6 separate regions of the Homo sapiens genome follow, and all the other regions are linked to region 1. The links are contacts of gene promoters, found by promoter capture Hi-C in human tissues and cell types (Jung and others, 2019). All regions are on one chromosome and are shown on one strand. The core of a region is centred on a gene start or on the middle of the fragment in contact, and the rest is flanking DNA. Distances in the headings are between cores, read along the strand shown.

The links. The method cuts DNA at HindIII sites, captures the fragments that hold promoters and counts their contacts. A contact is called where the count stands out against the background at its distance.
Region 2: a contact is called between a fragment that was not itself captured here and the fragment with the promoter of DSCR4 in region 1, in 1 of the 25 tissues and cell types used here (mesendoderm cells).
Region 3: a contact is called between a fragment that was not itself captured here and the fragment with the promoter of DSCR4 in region 1, in 2 of the 25 tissues and cell types used here (dorsolateral prefrontal cortex and spleen).
Region 4: a contact is called between a fragment that was not itself captured here and the fragment with the promoter of DSCR4 in region 1, in 4 of the 25 tissues and cell types used here (adrenal gland, aorta, lymphoblastoid cells and 1 more).
Region 5: a fragment that was not itself captured here is called in contact with the fragment with the promoter of DSCR4 in region 1 in 4 of the 25 tissues and cell types used here (H1 embryonic stem cells, dorsolateral prefrontal cortex, mesenchymal stem cells and 1 more).
Region 6: a contact is called between a fragment that was not itself captured here and the fragment with the promoter of DSCR4 in region 1, in 3 of the 25 tissues and cell types used here (H1 embryonic stem cells, aorta and mesendoderm cells).

What each region holds. Positions count from the first base shown.
Region 1 is chr21:38,119,672-38,123,125 of GRCh38, reverse strand. DSCR4 (Down syndrome critical region 4) reads left to right here and starts at 1,766. Exons shown (of 3, transcript NR_147130.1): 1 at 1,766-1,998; 2 at 2,718-2,819. It overlaps DSCR8 (Down syndrome critical region 8), which reads right to left and starts at 1,675. Exons shown (of 3, transcript NR_026842.1): 1 at 1,525-1,675; 2 at 715-814. The HindIII fragment of the contact is 7,375 bases long and covers 183-3,454 here.
Region 2 is chr21:37,890,280-37,893,733 of GRCh38, reverse strand. All of the region lies in intron 1 of KCNJ6 (potassium inwardly rectifying channel subfamily J member 6), which reads left to right. Among named protein-coding and RNA genes, the nearest start is that of KCNJ6, 24 kb to the left of the region's middle. The HindIII fragment of the contact is 3,972 bases long and covers 1-3,454 here.
Region 3 is chr21:38,320,881-38,324,334 of GRCh38, reverse strand. No RefSeq gene overlaps it. Among named protein-coding and RNA genes, the nearest start is that of LINC01423, 23 kb to the left of the region's middle. The HindIII fragment of the contact is 3,414 bases long and covers 1-3,227 here.
Region 4 is chr21:37,955,245-37,958,698 of GRCh38, reverse strand. No RefSeq gene overlaps it. Among named protein-coding and RNA genes, the nearest start is that of KCNJ6, 41 kb to the right of the region's middle. The HindIII fragment of the contact is 3,856 bases long and covers 1-3,454 here.
Region 5 is chr21:37,970,854-37,974,307 of GRCh38, reverse strand. No RefSeq gene overlaps it. Among named protein-coding and RNA genes, the nearest start is that of KCNJ6, 56 kb to the right of the region's middle. RefSeq lists an enhancer at 1-1,029. The HindIII fragment of the contact is 3,866 bases long and covers 1-3,454 here.
Region 6 is chr21:37,987,496-37,990,949 of GRCh38, reverse strand. No RefSeq gene overlaps it. Among named protein-coding and RNA genes, the nearest start is that of KCNJ6, 73 kb to the right of the region's middle. The HindIII fragment of the contact is 8,084 bases long and covers 1-3,454 here.

The sequences.
Region 1 (3,454 bases), core at 517-3,016:
TTTTTCTCTTTGCCTGATTGAGCTGGAATATTGATCTTCTGCCCTCTGTGCTTCTGGTTCTCAGGCCTTTAGACCTGGGCTGCAATCTATACCATCGGCCCTCCAGCTCTTAGGCCTTTGACTTTCATCAGCTTTCCTGGGTCTCCAGCTTGCAGAGAGCAGATCATGGGGCTTCTCAGCCTCCACAATCACATGAACCAGTACCTGATAATAAATTGGTTCTGGTTTTTCCAGAGAACCCTGATTAATATACTATCTGTGCATTCACTTAGGAGAAACAAAGTCATTAAATGTGAAAAAAAAAAAAGAACTGAGTCACTCAGAAGAATCATACTATAGTTGCCCATCATATATTATAAAGAACAAAGTATTCTAAATTATTTACGAATAAGAATTCTATAAAGAAAATGACTGATTATCTGCGCTTACACAAAATATTTCATGGAAATTTTATTACCGTGCTCTTTTTTTTTTTTAATTTAACCATCATTATGTTGTGCATTCATCATCTGGAGTTTTTAGTTGTTTAGAATTCCCTGTTGGCAGCCAAATTCCTGTCTGGGAAAATGTATGAGCCAGCCTTCATTTTCCACGATGACTTTCCAAGGAACCATTACAATTAAGAGAATGTAAGTTACTCATCTCCAATAACTGTACATGAAGCAATATTCCGAGGATTTGTTAACTGTCTTTGACAGGAGATCATCTACTCACAGTAGGTGCTTAACAAATGCCATCTTGAATGAATGAAGACCCTTTCTCACAGTAACAAAGTTGGGTCCAGGCTCCTTCATTTTTGCTCAGCAAGATGAAGCTAAGGAAACAGGAAATAAGTCATCAACCAAATCATAGTAACAAATCGTTCTATTCCATTCTCCATAATTCACCCTTCAGTCCAGGGGAACACTAACAATTGCCCCTCCAGATACAAAGAAATTGCCTCCTCTGAAGACAGCTGCCTCACCTAAGGCCACATTTCCTTCCAGGTTGCCCCACTTCCAATGAGTCACTGATTGGCAATCCATAAAGGTCAGCTCTCTTGCCTCAACTCAGCATACCTCTGACAGATCGTCCCATCTTCCCGTCTCCCTTGAGGTTTGACTGGGGTTGCTGCTGACCCAGTGATATAGGAGTTAAGAAGAAAGTACTTAGGCAGATAGTGAAGGTATGGGAGTCCTCAGTAAGGTCTTCCTTTTAATGAAAAGCAGCCCCCAAATCATTTTCTTTTCTAACAAAAAGCAACCTGGAAAATCGAGCTGCAGACACAGACAAGCAAGCTGAAAGCTTGCACAGGCAAATACCGGCAGTTGTGCCAATAAAAATATACTACCTGGGGCCGGCGCTGTGGCTCACGCCTGTAATCCCAGCTACTCAGGAGGCTGAGGCAGGAGAATCGCCTGAACTTAGGAGGCGGAGGCTGTGGTGAGCCAAGATGGCGCCATTGCACTCCAGCCTGGGCAACAAGAGCGAAACTCCGACTCAAAAAGCGACAACAGCAGCAACAACAACAACAAAAAACACTACCTGGGATTAGGCATGTTCTAAATGGCAGCTCCATCTTCTCTTTTTGCCACCCATGTTTACAGAAACGAGTGGACAAGACGGCCCCTGCCAAGTGGGAAGCCTATTTGCATAACAAGATTAGGGTGGGGTGACCAGCCTTCCCTGCGCGCTACGTAAACGTCACCCCTGGTCGAACCAATCTCTGGGCTCCACGTAAATCAGACACCGCCTCCTCAAGCCTGCCCGTAAAACCTGCTGCCGTCAGTCACGGGCCAGCCTTTCCCTTAAGGATGTCTGAGAGCTGGTCTCCTCACTCTTTTCTTCCGCCTATTAAACTTTCCGCTTCTTAACTCACCCATGTGTGTCCATGTCGTTAATCATCTTGACGAGAGATGATGAACCCCGGATATTTACCCCAGACAGTGATGCCGCTTCACCAGCATTGCACTCTACTTCCCCGCTTCCTGATCCTGCCTCAGCTTCTCCTCTCCACAGGTATTGATCCCAAGAACAACCCGTAAGAAATGTCCTGCACGCTAATCTCCATCTCAGAGTCAGCTTCCCAGGGAATCCAGCAATTACGAAGCATTCAGCTTAATTTTGTTGATTGCTTTATGATTTTGTGTGTGTGTGTGTGTTTTAATGTTGAAATGTAACATATATTCAAAAGTGTGGATAAAGTCTCCATGACGATTAGTTTCCTGTGTCATCATGGGGGCCAGGCTTTAGTGCCTTTTTTTTTTTTTTTTTTTTTTTTTTTTTGTGGTGAGACAGAGTTTTGCTCTTGTCACCCAGACTGGAATGCAGTGGCGCGATCTCGGTTCACTACAACCTCCTGGGTTCAAGTGATTCTCCTGCTTCAGCCTCCCAAGTAGCTGGGATTACAGGTGCCCGCCACCAAGCCAGGCTAATTTTTGTATTTTTAGTACGGATGGGGTTTCACCATGTTGGCCAGGCTGGTCTTGAACTCCTGACCTCAAGTGATCTTCCTGCCTCGGCCTCCCAAAGTGCTGGGATTACAGGCGTGAGCCACTGCACCCGGCCTTTACTGCCCATTTATTTAATCAAACACTAATCTAGGTAGTGCTGCAAAGGTATTTTGTAGATGTAGTTAACATCTACAATCAGTTGGCTTTACATAAATCTTACTTTTCATACTGTGAATGGGCCTTATACAATCAGAAGCCTTAAGAGCAAAAACTGAATTTTCCTAGAGAAGAAAAAATTCTGCCTAAAGTCTGCAACATCGTTTCCTGCCTGAGTTTCAGCCTGCCAGCTTCTCCTACGGATTCTGGACTTGCCAGCCCCACAATCATGTAAGCCAATATGCTAAAATAAATTTCTTAATATAATTCTTAATGTATATATCCTTTTGATTCTGTTTTTCTGGAGAAATCTGGCTTATACAGGCTCTTAACATGATTGTTTATCTGTCAATTTTTATTTTATGGCTATGTTATTAGGTATAAACAAATTTACGATTATTTCATATTAAACCTGAAACGTTGATTATTCTGAAACGAGCCAGTCTTTGCTTTGGTTTTGTAACTTTTGCTTTGCATAGTAGTTTTACCATCCCTTACTTACTTTCAACCTGTCGATATCTTTATATTTAAAGTAAGCAGCTTGTTTAGCTTTGCTTGATATTATTACCTTCTCTGATGAGCTTTATATTTCAATTTCAATATTTAGTCTGTTTATATTTACTGTAATTCAAGGTTAAATCTACCATCTTACCATTGATTCCTATTTTCTCTGTTCTATGATTTTTTTTGTCCTTCCTTAAAGTTTTTGGGCTTATTTAAATTTTTCTAATTACATTTCTTCTTCTATTAGCTTGTTATTTATATGTTTTTTTAAAAAATTGGTGTTTTCTCTAATTGGTGCAACATGCATTCTTGACTTACTAAAGTGCTATCGGTGTGTGTTTTAAAGGCGCTACTGTAAATGT
Region 2 (3,454 bases), core at 343-2,842, 230 kb after region 1:
CCGTAGAATATAATCCAGAACCCAAGGTAGTATTTGTTGGACAGAAATGTCAAAAAGCATCAACTCCAAATAAGGAAAGGCAGAGGAAAAAAAAAAAAAAAGGCTTCTCCAGCCGTAGGTGAGAGAGGGCACAGGCTGCCATTTATACACACAGTGCTGGAGCCGAGTGCTGTTGCAAGAAGGTATGGACCAAAGAAGTCAACATTTCCCTAGAAAATAGGGGGAACAGGCTGGGCACGGTGGCTCACACCTGTAATCCCAGCACTTTGGGAGGCCAAGGCAGGTGGATCACAAGGTCAGGAGTTCAAGACCAGCCTGGCCAAGATAGTGAAACCCCATCTGTACTAAAAATACAAAAATTAGCTGGGCACGGTGGCAGGTGCCTGTAATCCCAGCTACTTGGGAGGCTGAGGCAGGAGAATTGCTTGGACACAGGTGGCAGAGATTGCAGTGATCCGCGATCACACCACTGTACTCCAGCCTGGGAGATGGCGTGAGACTCCATCTCCAAAAAAAGAAAAAAATAGGGGAACATTCAAAAGGGTACCCAGGAATGTAACATAAGACTATGAAAGAAACCGGCCGGGTGCGGTGGCTCAAGGCTGTAATCCCAGCACTTTGGGAGGCCAAGGCAGGCGGATCACAAGGTTAGGAGATCGAGACCATCCTGGCTAACATGGTGAAACCCCGTCTCTACTAAAAATACAAAAAAAATTAGCTGGCCTGGGTGGCGGGCGCCTGTAGTCCCAGCTACTCGGGAGGCTGAGGCAGGAGAACAGTGTGAACCCGGGAGGTGGAGCTTGCACTGAGCCGAGATCACACCACTGCATTCCAGCCTGGGTGACAGAGCAAGACTCCATCTCAAAAAAAAAAAAAAAACTATGAAAGAAGCCATATGGGGACAAAGAATGCTAAAACTGGGACTTCTCACTCTCCTGTATAGTGATTTCTTCTTAAAAACTCCTCAGTGAAAAGATTTTACCTCATTGCCAGGGTCAACAGTGGACAACCTGGGGTTGCCATAGACATCCTAAGCCCTATGCCCATTCTGCACCCCTTTTCCCAACTTGCCTCCCCATCTTTGCCCAACCTTAAGTCTCTACCATTGCCTTCACCCTGTTGCCTCACTTATACTAAAGTGCAAATGACCCAGCAGGGACCTAAGTGAGCAGCCTGTCTTCTCAATACATTTTGCCCAAAGGTATCCCAAATTTCCCAACCCAGTCAGAGCCACCAGATTTTTTTACAGCTGTATTTTCTAAACTAATAAACAAGAAATATAGCCAGATACTAACAGTCATTAAACCTGGAGGTCAGAGCATAGAAATTCCATATAATTTCCTGAATGCTTGAAATATTTTGTAATAACTATTAAAAACTGAGGTAGGTGACTTTACGATCAGCCAGGACCACATCAGTGCTGTTCCTGCAGAAGAAATGGCTGTGCCCAGGGCTCCCTCTCACTCTTACTGCTGTATTGGGATGCCCCATTTGACCTGAAATGATTCAACGCCCTGTCTGCACATTTGCATCTCCTGAAGAGCTCCTCACTCTAAAACCCTAGACTGATTAAATCAGAATTACAATGGGGAACAGTCTCTGCACTGGTATGTTTCAAAAGCTCCCACATGGTTGTAGCAGGCAGCCAGGGTTGAGAACCATTGATTTAAAGAAGAATCACAAGAATGCTTTAAAAAGATACCTGCAAATTCTTCAGTGTTTAAGCTCCCAACATGAAAATCTTTGTCTTCTTATTGCCAAGAATCATCTGAGAGTCATGTGATGCGTGTCTCCACCCCCACCATCCCACACCCCTTCCCCATCCCACACTTGAGACCATCAACCCACACCCAGCCCAGCACCACCACAACTGCCGCCAGCATCAGCACCAATGTCCTTGCTACCTCCAACAGGAACAGCAGCTGCAAGAAGAAAGAGTGAAATGCAGAGCTGAGGCCCTTATCTCAAATGATCGACTTTGGCACTTGGATATTCAAGCCTTTAAAATTTATATATGAGGGGGTCACTGAGAGGGCTTGGTATCTGGTAGTTCAAACACTTGCAACCTGGGCCCCCTAGGTTCAGCTGGGTCTAAGAAAGCCTGGAAATGTTCTCACCCAAACAGCCTACAAGTACTCAATTCATAAATCCCCTGTTACACAAATTAAAATACATATTAAGGGATTTTTTTAACTTTGTAGATTTTAGGGACACATTTCTAAGCAGTGCTTAATCATCCATGGTTTTCTAGCTAGTCGGAACCATTCATAGATATGAGGCAAAATTTTGATCTCTATATAAAATTATTCTCACTACACCTAAAATGACATCGTGTACAGTGCAGAGTGTACATGCCTGTGTCCGTGCATGTGTGCCTGTGTGTTTGTCTATGCGTGTCTGTGTTCGTATCTGTCTCTGTGTCTATGTGTGCATGTTTATGTGTGTCTGTACCTGTCTCTGTGTGTGTGTCTTTGCCTGTGTGTGTCTGTGTGTGGTTCCCCTAACCTGCCTTTGCAAAACCTGCTCACCTTTCATCCATCCAGCACACAGCTGAGAGGCCCACCTGTGAAAGTATCCTATGAAAGCAAGGAGGAAAGCCCGTCCCCTATGCCTTCCCTGCTTCCCAGTCCTTCTGTCACTCACCTTTCTGAGATAGGTAGGTGAGCATCGTACAGTTAGATTCAGGAGATCAGAGTAAACCCTCAGGATCCCTTGTGTTTAACTTTAGGGAGAAATTTCCAGAATTTATAACCTGACTTTCAATGCGCAATATTTTACAGGAAAGATTTTTATTAAGGTTGCCCCCATGTGCCATCTTGCCAGATTCGATTCTGTAAAGGTTTTTGGAAACCCACAGTAGGCTACAGCTTCACTGGGGCTTGTTTTGTTTGTTGGCTGCTTGCTTGGATGCGGGGGAGGCGGGCAGAGTCAGAGGCAGTGTTCTCCTGAATTGTACCGATGTGATGCACTCCCCATGTCTGTGGGACTTGCAGGGGAAAACCTTTTGACACACAGAGCCGCCATGTTTTATTCCTTTGTACATGATTTACAATTGCATGGTTCTTTTCAACTCTCAGAAATCAGAAATCTCAGCATGTGTTTCACACATAGAAGGTTTGTGTCAAACCTTGAGTGGGTTTGCTGTACAGACATGCAGCTGAAGGCAGGTCAGCCTTCTTGCAGGAGTGTCTTCCAGGGCAACAGGAGGCCACGAAAGCAGAAGTCTTTTATGTCGTAGGTTAAAATAGGTCTTAAGCTCTTTTACTTAGAAATGTGAATTGACTGTAAAACTCTTTTGAGAAGTTGATGTGATTTGGCTGTGTTCCCACCCAAATCTCACCTCGAATTGTAGTCCCCGTAATCCCCACTAGTCATGGGAGGGACCTGGTGGGAAGTAATTGAATCATGGGGGCAGTTACCATCATGCTATTCTCATGATAGTGAGGGAGTTCTC
Region 3 (3,454 bases), core at 271-2,770, 200 kb before region 1:
CAGATGCTTGTCAGGGGCCCAGTCCAGGCTGCTTGAATAGAATTGGCTGGGTTCCCTTCATCCGCTGTTGCGATTAAGGAATAATGTAAGATAGGAGCAGTCACACCATTACACTCTATTAGCCTGATTTATGTTGGGTCACTGAACCCCCCACCTTAGGTGCCACCCACCATTCTACCCCCTTAGCTACCTACAAACCCACTCTGGGGTAATGGGGTGTACCCACTCTGGGGTAGTTTAAAATCTGTTCACAAATTCTTTGAAACCCTCTTGAAAAGCTGTAACCTATTCTCCTCTTCTTGAGTGTGGCTAGACTGAGTGACTTACTGTTAATGAATAGGTGGGGGAGGAAGCAACATGAGATACTAGGCAATAAAAGATTCTGTGGTTTCCTGTTTGCTTTCTCTCTTGGATTACTCTGTCTGAATGATGCTAGCTTCCCTTGCCTGAGAATCGTTACAAAGAGGAGCATCTGATGAGGAAATGAGAACTCCAGCCAGAAACCAGCAATAAATTGAGGGCTCCTATATGAGCAATGCATTCTCCAGCCCCAATCAAGCCTTTGGATAACTGCAGCTCCTGCCAGCATTTTGACTGCACTTCATGAAACACTTTGAGTCAGAGCCACCTACCTAAGCCACTCCAAAATTCCTGACCGTCAAAAACTTTGAGATAATAAATGCTTGTTGTTTTAAACTACTACCTCTTAAGGTAGTTTTTAATATAGCAGTAGATTACTAATATAAGGCACTACTATATTCTCAAAAACTTCTGAGAATCTTACCCCAAACCACCAGCTTTATTACTATCAGGGTATCATAATGACAGGTTGTAAGTTTACAACCTGTATTAGTCTAGTTAACGCTTGTGTTAATCAGGCTAGTTAACACTAGCCACTGTAACAAACAAGACCCCCCACCCTCGCCCCCGCCAAATCACAGTGGTTTTACAGAGTAAAAGCTCAGTTCTCCTTTGTGAGAAGTCCAGTTTAGCTAAAACATCTGGGCAAATTGTAGACCAAGATCTCTGAGGAGGGGAGGGAGGAATGGAAGAATTGACTATCTTGGTCAGAAAATGCCACACATCATTCATGCCCACACCCTGTTGGCCCAGATCAATCACTGCCACCAACCTAACTACCTGGAAGGCTGCTGGGAAATGTGGGGGAGTCCCAGGAATATTTGACAACTCCTATTGTCACTGCCACACAACCCTACTTGGGTTTTCTAATTTAAAAGCCAGAAAATACATGGCTTTAAAGAGATATGTAATCCATGTTTGTGCTTCCTGCACCAGCCTGGGGATTTAAATGAGAAGCATATTCATCGTAATAAACATTATTCTTCAGATTGTATCAATAATTATTATTGCTCCCTGTCAAATCCCCATCTTAAATTGCTTTTCTGGGAATCCCCAGGGAATGTCTCCTGGGCATTTGAGACAAACGTAATCAGATACCACAAGGAGTTGCCTTTTCCTTCTTCTCTCCTTTTGGGCAGTGTCCATTGCTGCACTCTCTGCCAATGACACTATGAGCAGAAGTCTGCCTGTCGGTGATGAGCAAGCACTGTGCTTCCAGCACAATACAAACAGACTGAGCTCCCTGAGAGATGGGATGACTGCGTCTCTCCCGCTTGTGTCTTACTTGGTCCTCTGGAACCGAAAGCTAAGCTTTAAGTAGAAACAGCTCTTCAGGGCTCACACATAAGTCTGTGGTCAGAGTCATTCTCTAAAACAAAGATGGCGCTGGGCACTCACTCCACCGCCTGCTCCCACCCACCCTCTGTGGTGCATTTCTTCCACCCTCTCCTCTTGCCATCCCTCCACTCATGAGCATCCTATAAGCACCTTTATCACAAGTCTTATAAAGAGAAAAGACATCTGAAGAATGGTGGAGTTCATGCTGGTGGATGATACAAGAATGCTATAGTTCTGCGTCATTAGATTTATGGCTGCTAGGAATACACTGCCTGGCTATTAGAGATGAGAAGCTATTTTAAATTATGTTGTATTTTTCAGCCTTTCCTCAAGCTTGTCCTTATTGAACTTTCCCACCTTTCCCCTCACTTTTCAAGAGATTTTCAAATATACTCGTTGAGCACATTGTGACTGCACACCTAACATGTGCGTAATTCTGGGACATAGAACTCCCTAAAAGTGTGAACTTCCACCTGAACCCACCTTCTCTTTTGTAGGATTTTCCAAACTTCCCCATTGTTTCCTTTCCTAAATAAAATAGTTTGGAAAAAAAAGTTATAAATATTTCTCAGACTTCCTGGAAATTTTATTTAGCATTTTGATAAGTGAAGTGTAAAGAAGTTGAAATATGCAGATCAAATTTCCGTTAAAATACACGAACCCTCATATGAATGAGAGGAAACGTGCTTTGCAAAACCATGGTTTTGGTTTTTCTGAACCAAAGATACTTGAAAAAAATAGTTTGAGACATTCAGCAATTCCACAGTGTGGCTGGGCTCACCCATCCCTAATTTCAAGGGACATTAAATCCATCTGTTTCTCATTCATTGATTCTCAGCTCACCAAAATGCTATTTGGCAAATGTGATGGGACGTCCAGGAAGCTGTGCAGGCTGTTTTTAAGCCATGTTGTTCTCAACTGCGAAGTGGGCTTGGCCAACGTTCCCTTGGATCAGCTTCTTTATCTTCGATATGGTACTTGCAAAGTCCTATCGGATTTGAAACTCTCTGAAGTCAACTTATAGATATATAAGGGCTCTGGCAGCTCAATGGGTCCAGTCCCCTGCCTCAGGGTGGATTTATATCCGAGTTGTTGTGACTCCAGTTTAGTTTTGTCTTCATTGCTCACCTGTTCTTGTGATCAACAACTTTCCTGCTCAGGAAACTCCTCCTTATATCTCTCCTGAAAGGCTCCTGTACTGTAGTGGACACTGTTAATGCATCATGCAGCTCTCCTAGGAGAGCCTTTGCTGGGTCTCTGTCCCCATCACTCAACTTCTGCAAGACTTGCTGCAACAAGCTAGCACATGGAGCTCACAACTCTGAAGCCCTGGGTTATGTTATCCTTATTCCAGGAGAGGGGTCAGGAGTCTCTCACTCCCACTTGGTCAAGGAGATGGAAATGTTGACAGGTGATATGGTTTGGATTCCTGTCCTTGCCCAAATCTCGTGTGGAATTGTAATCCCCAGTGTTGGAGGAGAGGCCTGGTGGGAGTGACTGGATCACAGGGGCAGGTTTCCCCCTTGCTGTTCTCATGATAGCGAGTGAGTTCTCACTAGACCTGGTTGTTTAAAAGAGTGTAGCCCTTCTCTTTTCGATCTCTTCCTCCTGCTCCAGCCATGTAGGACGTGCCTACTTCCCCTTCACCTTCTGCCATGATTGAAATTTTCCTGAGGCCTCCCAGCCATGCTACCTGTCCAGCCTGCAGAACTGTGAGCCAATTAAACTTCTTTTCTTTATAAATTACCCAGTCTCA
Region 4 (3,454 bases), core at 675-3,174, 160 kb after region 1:
TGTTGCTCCCCCCTCTAGTTCTCTCCCCAGTAGAGCCTGGTTTATTGTATTCATAAATAAGAAATGGCAAACATTCATTCTTTTTAAGAACACAAAGGCACATTTCTTTTTATCCCATCAAATTAAGTTCAGCTACTCCACTAGCTAGGATTACATAAGACAATTCCAGTGAGGAGGAAAGAAATCAGCCTTAAAAACACAATCCCCATTTGAATAGGGAGGGAAGAGAACAGATGAGGATGAAGTGCAAGCTTCCCTTTGTGAATTTTCAACTCCACCTTCTGCTCAGATGCCCATTTCACTCTCCAGCCTGTTTTCTTTCGTCCCATCCGGACTTCTTTTGACCAGAGAAGAGAGCTGATGACCAGAGTGTGGACACAGGGCGGAGGTCTGAAGGGAAGAGATGGAGAATGGATACTAGCAGAGGTGGAGAGAGCTGGCAAATGATCTTGCTCCCTGGAGGTCTTATGGATCTGGAAAAGCATTTGCCACGACTCTATTTTTACCCTGCACATTTCCACCTACACGGATCAAATGTGTTCCAACTTTCCAGCACTCAGTCTCCCAGTTTACTGCTTGTCAGAAGCACTGACTACTGCCATCAATAATTTACAGCCTTTAAATGTGGAAGCTACACTGTTCCTGGAACACACACTTACCTGGTAGTGGTGGATTTTTAACCAGAGCCCATAGTCTCAGGTTAATTAAGTCGTAGTCACTATTCCACCCTCCAATTAATGCCATTTAATTCCCAAATAAATATATTGCAAATTTATAATCATTGTAACACCAGTTACTTGTAATTACAGATTTATAAAACAGAACATCCAGCCATATATTAAGAAAGACATTTTAGAGGGATAAATAAATACACTTCTGGTGAAATGTGTCTGTGGCTTTGTTTAGTTCGTGGTATTTTGGTTTTTTGTTTTTTTTGTTTGTGTTCTGGAACAAAGCAGCTTGTTTCTTTGCTTTTGTTTTTCAACTGGTGTGGGCCAAATTGTAGTCACTTTTAACAGGTCCCTTAACCACCCTGTTCTTTTCCATTTCTCTCTATTTCATTACATGTGGCTGAAATTTATCAACATGGAGCCAGGTGAGAGTCCTTCTGCAAGTCCCTGGCCATGCTGAGTCTTTACAGGCAGCAATAAAGGTTTCTGAACCCGCATCCTGAAAGCAAACAGATAGGTTTACATTGGGGACCAGAGTCCTTCCTCTACTACCAGGAGTCAATTCCTTCTGCTCAAAGGGCCACTGCTGTCCAGGCAGTAGAGTTGCCAGATTTATCAAATAAAAGGGGAGATCAGTTACATTTAAATTTCAGATATCAACAAAGAAAAATTTAGTGTATGTCCCAAATATTGCATGAGACATACTTATACAAAAAAGAATTATTCATCTAAAATTCAAACATAACTTGGTCTCTGTATTTCATCTGGCAGTTCTACCAGGCAGAGATACCCAAGCCTGCACCAAGAATTCCATGGGAGACCTGCAGCCTGTGGTCAGTTCTATTTTTGTTTTTAAACGTATACTAGTTGATTATAAAGGATATTGCAAAGGATACAGACGTGTAGGGCGAGGTATGGGGGCAGGGGCACGGAGCCTCCATGCCCTCCGTGGGTGCTTCAGGGAACTTGTCAGTTCCCAAAAGCAGGAGGGGTCTCGGTAAATATACAGCTTCGCCCTTTCAGGCACCTGGAATAACTGAGCTGGCCAATGACGTCATCTCTTGCTCTGAGACTCTTTAAAAGGGTTGTTAATTTACTACTGGATTTCCCTCAATCTATAACACATTTATTCATTTCTTACCCTCAGCTATTATTCTTTCTTTTTTTTCCATTTGTCATTTACTTTTACCCAAACTTTTCCACCTTTGAAAGGGACATTAACTTCAGCCATTGTGCTGGTCCAGATCGCTGGTAGCAATATCAGCCTAGTGAGTGCCTCTACCTCAGTCTGTTCCCATTCATTCAAGACAGGGTTACACAGATTCCAAACTAGTGAGCCACTTCTACCACCAGGAAATATAGTTGTATTTATTCTTTTATTTTCTTCAAGTTTTATTTTTAAGTTCAGGGGTACATGTGCAGGACGTGCAGGTGTGTTACATAGGTAAACGTGTGCCGTGGTGGTTTGCCGCACAGATCAACCCATCACCTAGGTATTAAGCCCAGCATCCATTAGCTATTGTTCCTGATGCTCTCCCTCCCCACACCCCACCCCTAACAGCCGCCAGTGTGTGTTGTTCCCCCAACCCCATGCGTCCATGTGTTCTCATCATTCAGCTCCCACTTGTAAGCGAGAAGACGCAGTGTTGGTCTTCTGTTCCTGCCTCAGCCATGGTGGAAGACAGTGTGGTGATTCCTTAAAGACCTAGAGGCAGAAATACCATTTGACCCAGCAATCCCATTACTGGGTGTATACCCAAAGGAACAGAAATCATTCTATTATAAAGATACATGCACGTGTATGTGCATTGTATTTAGTCCTAACCCCACTTTTGCCAGACGAGATAAAGACACGGTCCACCCCCAGAATTGTTAGGAATTCTGACAAAGTTTAAAAACACAGTGACAGTTTCTTGCTTAGAAATCATTCCTGCTTCCAGAACTTGCAGTTGCACCTCTGGTTCTAGGACCACCGCATCAGGTAAGGGAGAAAAAAAAAAACAAGACATTTTTCTGAGATGATTTGGGAAAGAAAGAAAAAAAATACATAGTTGTTGTACCAGTGTATTCCTCCCATAGCAAGAATTGCAAGGTCATGCCAGCATCCTCCCCAACCCCTCTTCCCCAGAGCAACCAGGGAAACAGTCAAAAATCTAGTAGGGACACTCCTTTAGTCCCACACGTGTTGAGTGTGAGCACAGACTAGTGAAGGTGTGTAAGGCAGCCTTCATGCTTTTATCTCCCCATGTTTTAGACCAGGGGTCCCCAGCCCCCAGGCTATGGACCATGGCCTGTTAGGAACTGTACTACAGAGCAGGAGGTGAGTGGCGGGTTGAGTGAGCAAAGCTTTATCTGTATTCACTTATATGACCATCTGAGCTCTGCCTCCTATCAGATCAGCAGAAGCATTAGATTCTCATAGGAACGGGAACCCTATTGCAAACTGCTCACGCAAGAGATCTAGGCTGTGTGCTTCTTATGAGAATCTATGCCCGATGATCTGTCACTGTCCCTCATCACCCCCCAGATGGGACCATCTAGTTTCAGGAAAACAAGCTCAGGGCTCTCACTGATTCTACATTATGGTGAGTTGTGTAATTATTTTATTATATATTATAATGCAGTAATAATAGAAATAAAGTGCACAATCAATGGAATGTGCTTGAATCATCCTGAAACCATCCTCCCTCCCCCTGTGATAAAACTGTCTTCCAGGAAACTGGTCCCCAGTGCCAAAAAGTTTGGGGACTGCTGTTTTAGACAACCAGTGTTTCAACTGCCCC
Region 5 (3,454 bases), core at 282-2,781, 150 kb after region 1:
GAATGACTAATTCCACACTCCAAATCCAATGCTTTTCCCCATAACACTAAACTGTCACCTACGTAAAAACATGAATCACCGCATATTAGTGGTTTAACAGTGGCTGTGGGTGGTAAATGTCTTGACCTCGAGGAGTACCTGTGACATGAGGCAACTCAGCAGAGGTGAGAATGGGGATCTCAGGCCACCGTTTCAGGACCGCTCCTCCCTCACTTTGTAGGGCCTGCGCTGTACCTACCTGAGCCTGGTAGCAGAAGGAGCACCTCTCTCCATAGCCAGCGTTGAAGGGTTCCCATGGTCTCCCAGAAGGCACAAAGATAGGCTCTTAACTAAATCAAACTCACCTTAGGTAAGTCTACCTGGACTGTGGTGGTTAGTTATATATCAATTTGACTGGGTCACGAGATGCCCAGATATCTGGCTAAACATTATTTCTAGGTGTGTCTGTGAGGGTGTCTCTGGAAGAAATTAGCATTTGAATTCATGAGCTGAGTGAAGCAGATGGCCCTCTTCAATGTGGGTCAGCATTATCCCATCTGCTGCAGGCCTGGATAGCACAAAAAAGTGGAGGAAAGGGGGATTCTCTCTCTCCCTTTCTCTGTCTAACTGCTTGAGCTAGGACATAAGTCCCCTGCCCTCAGACCCAGACCAGGTCTTGCACCATTGACCTTTCTAGTTTTCAGACCTGATTGGTGGGAATCACAGCACTGGCTCCCTGGTTCTCAGGCCTTTGGGCTTGGATTGGAACTTACATCACTGGCCTCCCTGGGCCTCTGGCCTGCGGAGGGCAGATTACAAAATGTCTCAGCCTCCACAATCACGTGAGTCAATGCCTCTGTATAAATATCTTTCTTTCTCGCGTTCTCTTTGTATGTGTGTTTGTGTGTGTGTGTGTATATACATATATGTGTGCATGTGTCTCTTTATATGTGTGTGTGTATATATATATCCTATTGATTATTTTTCTCTGGAGAACCCAGACAAATACATGGATCAATGGTGATTTCTAACATGGAAGTAGCCATCCTGATGTGGCTTATTTTGGTCTGTGAATAGGGAGAGGGCCTTCTCCTCTCATGGGTCGAGCACACACTCAAGGAGGCTGTCTTCAGGCCAAGGTCACCCTTGTGAACACTGATTGGTATGAAGAAGAGGTGAACACAGGTGTGATGGAACCAACGTCTTTGTTCCCACCTAATAGCTACCTGCCTTCTCTTCCAGTTTGGGAGGGTGACGTGCCAGGTCCTGATAGGAAGGCAAAAGTGGCTCACCTCAGCTGCTCTACCAAGTACCCCACAGAGGGTAAGGAGGTTTCCAAACCAAAAAGTTTTGCCCACCCATAGTTTTTGGTTAAACCTCATGAAACTGCCAAAATTTAAATTTCTTGACTTAGAAAAATGGTAATTCTGTGGGGTTCAATCTAATAATAACTGCTATTTATTGAGCACTATGCTAAAAGCTTGCTTGTATTATCACATTTAATCCTCAAAACAGTCGTAAGTGTTAGCAACAGACATTGTTATCTTTCTTACAAATAAGGGATTGAGGCACAGAGAACTTAGATAACTTACCCCAAATAAATCATGCAGCCAACAGTTAGCAGCCTGACTCGGGCACCCACATTAGCTGCCATCTCTCAAGAAGCATGAGGACCCCTCACTAAGCAGAGGAGAGACCAGGAGACACTAGAAAGGCCATTGGACAAAATCAGAATGACAAATGGGAATTCTCATTTTCACTACACAGAGGTGTGAGAGTCCATCCCCGCCTGTTGCAAGCTTGGCAGGGGAACAGGAGAGAGAATACCTGCAGGTGCCTTGTCAAAGGAAGATGAGAACGACGCTGTGGAGGGGAAAGGGCAAGGGCCTGCCATGTCCTGAGTGATGGGAGCTGGAGGTAGCCGCCACCATCTGTGGTCTTGACCCATATGCAGTGAAGCACAGGACCTGACAATACCAATGGGCTTTGTGGCCTGTGGACCTGGGCACTATCACCCTGCTGCTTCCTGGTGGAGAAGTCTGTGAAATGCCCGTCCATAGAGGGAGGCTGCTCAGGGAGACGCCTCTGCATTGCAGAGCACAGGGTCTCCTCTCATTTCCCTCTGGCCGCCCTCCGTGATGCCAGAATATAGCCATTGTCTGGCACAAAGCAGGTATTTAATGGAGGAACATTCTCTAGTTTAAGAAAAGTGCACTGTGGCAGCCTCTGGAACACACCTGGCAGACTCCAACTACAGAGAACACCACCCACTGAGGGCTCAAGATGTGGTGCTTTGAAATCCATCATAGCTGCATTTGCAGGAGGACTTGCATCCCCAGGGCTGCTCCCAGCGAATGACTGTTTTAGGTCACTAAGGCAGACACAGGGGCCCCCAACACCCTGAGGACCCTCCAGAGACTGCAGCAGGCAGTCCAACGTGCCTTCTCTCAGCCTCCCCTCCTTCTCTCTTGACATGGAGTCAGATTTGCATCAAGGCTTAATGGCCCTCCTGGCCTTCCCTGGTTCCCTCTTTATCTTCCCTCATGTGATAGTTTCTCCTAACAAAATGCAGGCAAGTTTAATCCCATCTCAACACATGCTTCCCGGAGGACCCTGACTAATAAATAAGCTGACATGGCATGCCAGGAGATCCTGGGCCGAATTGCCTTTATGATTCTCAAGCTTTCTAATCTTTGCTACACAAATAGTGATGGCTTCCCTCTTTCTTCGGGGAAACTGCTGTAATCAGCAAATTGTCACTGTTGTACTGAAGTGACCCTGAGATATGAGTCCTTTCCCTGGAAGGTAATTTACATGCTCTGATACACGAAAAGCATGTAACACTTCAATGATGCTTAAGGCAAAGGTGCTGAGGTTTTTCTTTAATACTACAGAGCATCTCGTAGGACAGAGAAGGCTCTGCAGTGAGCCTTCTCAAGGGATGAAATGGAACTATGAGATCGAGTTTAACACCTTAGCCCCAAGGAAGTAAAAACCAGAATCAGGACACTTCCCATTTGAAGCAACACCCACTACTGGGCAAAACCATCTACATCCACCACTCCAAACTATAGGAAGGCTACTCATATCCTATCACACCTGAAAAGTAAAGCACTCAAGTAGGGGCCTCAAATTAATGTTGCCACATCTGCTCGAGTAATACCATTTGGAGTAGAGGAGTAAGAGGCAGCAAGAAAACATTCCCAAGCTTGCCAAGAATCTTGGTATCCTAGAAATTCTACCAGTGTTTTCAACAGATTAAGCTTAAAAGTAATCGGGCATAGCCCAGAAGAAGCATGCCACTCCTCATTTTTGACCAGCACCTAGTATACTAGTCTGAGGTCACCAAACTACACATTAGCAGATATTCCCGGGTACCATGGGGTGATGGGGTGAGGATGAAAGAGGTTCCCAGTCCAGCTCACACTGAAAGACTTTTCCAAAGCTCAGGGGTGATAGCAAAATCTGGATGGTT
Region 6 (3,454 bases), core at 347-2,846, 130 kb after region 1:
ACTCTGGGTTGTGACTATTTGACCCTTTGGAGAGAGAAGAGAAATTTTACTATCCCCTTGGAAAACAACAACTAACTAAACAAAAAGCTACAGATCTGATTCTCCTGGTATGTGAAGAATCTTTGGTGGCTGGGGCTTTTTACAGGAACCCAGAAATCGGGGGGTGGGAGGAAGAGGGATTATGTCCCCACAGCCACCTTCCTACTTTCAGACACTGTCATTTGAGGACAGCCATCTGGCAGACATGGGGGACAATGTTCCTGGCACTCTGAGGTTGACAGAGGAGAAAGATGCTAAACTCCAGCCTTATAAGCATCTCTGATCCACTGAACCGCTTTTCTTCAAACTTCTCCTACCAGAGATAGTAAATATCCTTACTTGTTGAAACCACATTTAGTTGGATTTTTTATCTACAGCCAAAAAGCATCCTAATTCATATAAAATTACGGGAGAATCTTCTTGTTCTCCTTCCTTTCTTCTTTCTTTTTCTTTTCTTTCTCCTTCCTTCCTTCCTTCCTCTTTCTCTTTTAAATTAATGAGTGCTAATGGAATTAATAAATCATTTGATCTCTGTGAAAAACATCACTGAAAGTGGATGTCCAAGACAGTTTGTGACTTAAGGAGGGTCCTAGGTCACAGGGGGCCGGAACTCAGAGGTGAGTCAGGGGAGTGCACAATGGCTAGCAGACTCACACCTCCTCTGAGGCCACTGAGAACAGCAAAGGAAACAAAAAGTGGGCTTTGCCCTGCCTCCATTTGGCTAACCCTCACTTTCTGAGATTAGCTCTCAGGGACCCAGGCAGGCCAAACCTTCTCGCAGAGCAGACTTGCCCTCAAACCATGGTAAGCATGTGCTAACAGGTGCCTCCACCTGCTGAGTACTTCAGTGCTAGGCATAAATGCTGAGGGGCTAAGAGTAGGACATGCAGAAAGTCTAAGGATATCAGGGGGCACCTGATGGCATGAACTGATGCCCTTTGCTCTGTCTGCAGCAACAGAGCCAAAGAAGCCAAGAGGAGAGGTACTTGGCATTTCTGATATTTCCTACATGATTTCTCATACTCTGCCAAAGTGTACAGGTAGAAAATAGAGTCAAGAAGCGATTCGAGGCTTTAGTTTTTCATTGGAAGCTAATTTTGGAGTGTATCAACAGCCATCTCTCCAGAAAAACCACCAGAATTACCTGTTAATCAAGCAAAGTGAAGTTTCTTATTAACTGCAGAGAGGGAGGCATGGCTTGCCAGGGTCAAGGGTCCAGGCCTGCTGACCTGGACTCCTCAGTGAGCCTCCCCAGGTATCAGTGGGGTTGTTCTCTCACCGTGTGTTTTAGTTTGCTCCTGCTGCCATAACAAAGTACCACACACGACGTGGCCTGAACAATGGACATTATCTCTCACAGTTCTGGTGGCTGGGAAGTCCAAGGTCCAGGTGCCGACCAATTTGGTTCCTGATGAGGGCTGTCTTTGTGGCTTGCAGAGAGCCACCTTCTTGCTGTGTCCTCACAAGACCTCTCCCCAATGTGTGCACATGGAAAGAGAAAGAGATCTGGCATATTTTTTAAAAATACGCTACTCCTATTGGATCAGGACTCCACCCCAATGACCTCACTTAACCTTAATTACTTCCTTAGAGGTCCCATCTCCAAATACAACCACACTCTATTTGGTTGTATTTTCAGCATATAATACCATGTCTCACTAGAGTATTTTTGCTCCCCCACTTTCTGGTAGTCTGGTTGTTTCTGTCCATGGCCTCTTGAATGGCTGGTGCCTCAACTCCATGACTCTGCACAAGTGCTGGAGCACAGGGTTGGCCCCTGTCTTGGTCCTGTGTTCTGTCTACATTTCCTTGTGAGAACTCCATCCACCATGAGAGAGTGACGGTCTTCCTAACTTCTGGACCACTAACCCACCTCGGAAATACCCTGGAGGAAAACTTGAATTCCAAGTTTCCATTGCCTCTCCTTGGGTCTTTGTGGAAACTGGCACTGGCTCTGTCTCCATTGATTAAAATTCTAGGGAATGGGCATGGGCCATCCTTGATTCATTGTCTAAGGAAGACTTTGGTAGCGTCTGGAGGCCAATTCTGCATCTATCTTTTCAGACATTTCCAGAGGCTCGTCTGTCTTCACATCAATCTGTATTGCACTGGTGAAGTTGCATTCCCAGAGGGAATGTTGCAATGGGCTAAATTATGCCCAAAATGTTGATGTCCTAACCTTCAGAAGCTCAGCATGTGACTGTATTTGGAGATAGAACCTTTAACAAGGTGATTAAGGTGAAATGAGGTCATAAGTGTCACGCCCATCCATGTGAAGAGACCACCAAACAGGCTTGGTGTGAGCAATAAAGCTTTTTAACCACCTGGGTGCAGGCGGGCTGAGTCCGAAAAGAGAGTCAGCAAAGGGAGATGGGGGTGGGGCAGTTTTATAGGATTTGGGTAAGTAGTACAAAATTACAGTCAGAGGGGGTTGTTCTCTGGCGGGCAAGGGCAGGGGTCACAAGGTGCTCAGTGGGGGAGCTTCTGAGACTCATTGTCCAGGAGAAGGAGTTTCACAAGGTAATGCCATCAGTTAAGGCAGGAATGAGCCATTTTCACTTCTTTTGTGGTTCTTCAGTTGGCTCAGGCCATCTGAATATATACATGCAGGCTTGGGCTCAGAGGCCTAACAATAAGGGTGGGCTATAAACCAATCTGTCTAGTGTCCTTATAAGAAGAGGAGATTAGCAGCCGGGTACTGTGGCTCATGCCTGTAATCCCAGCATTTTGGGTGGCCAAGGTGAGCAGATCATGAGGTCAGGAGTTTGAGACCAGCCTGGCCAACATGGTGAAACCCATCTCTACTAAAAATACAAAAAATTAGCCAGGTGTGGTGGCAGGCACCTGTAATCCCAGCTACTCGGGAGGCTGAAGCAGGAGAATCGCTTGAACCCAGTAGGCGGAGGCTGCAGTGAGCCGAGATTGTGCCATTGCACTCTAGCCTGGGCAACAGAGCTAGACTCTGTCAAAAAAAAAAAAGAGGAGATTAGGACACAGACAGATATGCACAGAGGAAAGACCCTGTGAGGACACCAAAAGAAAGTGTCCATCTACAAGCCAAGAGGAGAGAGGCCTCAGGGGAAATCAATTCTGATGACATCTTGATCTCAGACTCCCAGCCTCCAGCCTGAGAAAATACACATCTGTCGTTGAGGCTACCCAGTCTGTGGTATTTTGTTATGGCAGCCCTAGCAAACCAATAAAGATACCAAAGAGCTTCACACAGAGTAGGGAGTGAGAATAAATTGTTGCAAAATAGGCTTTTTCACAAAGAAGGCTTTGGATCACTCGTAACTTTATTGAACATGTATTCTTCCCTATACCTTCTCTAGAAATGATTCTGTTAAATGAGTAAGGAGATGACAGATAGATAGATAGATAGATAGATAGATAGATAGATAGATAGATACATACA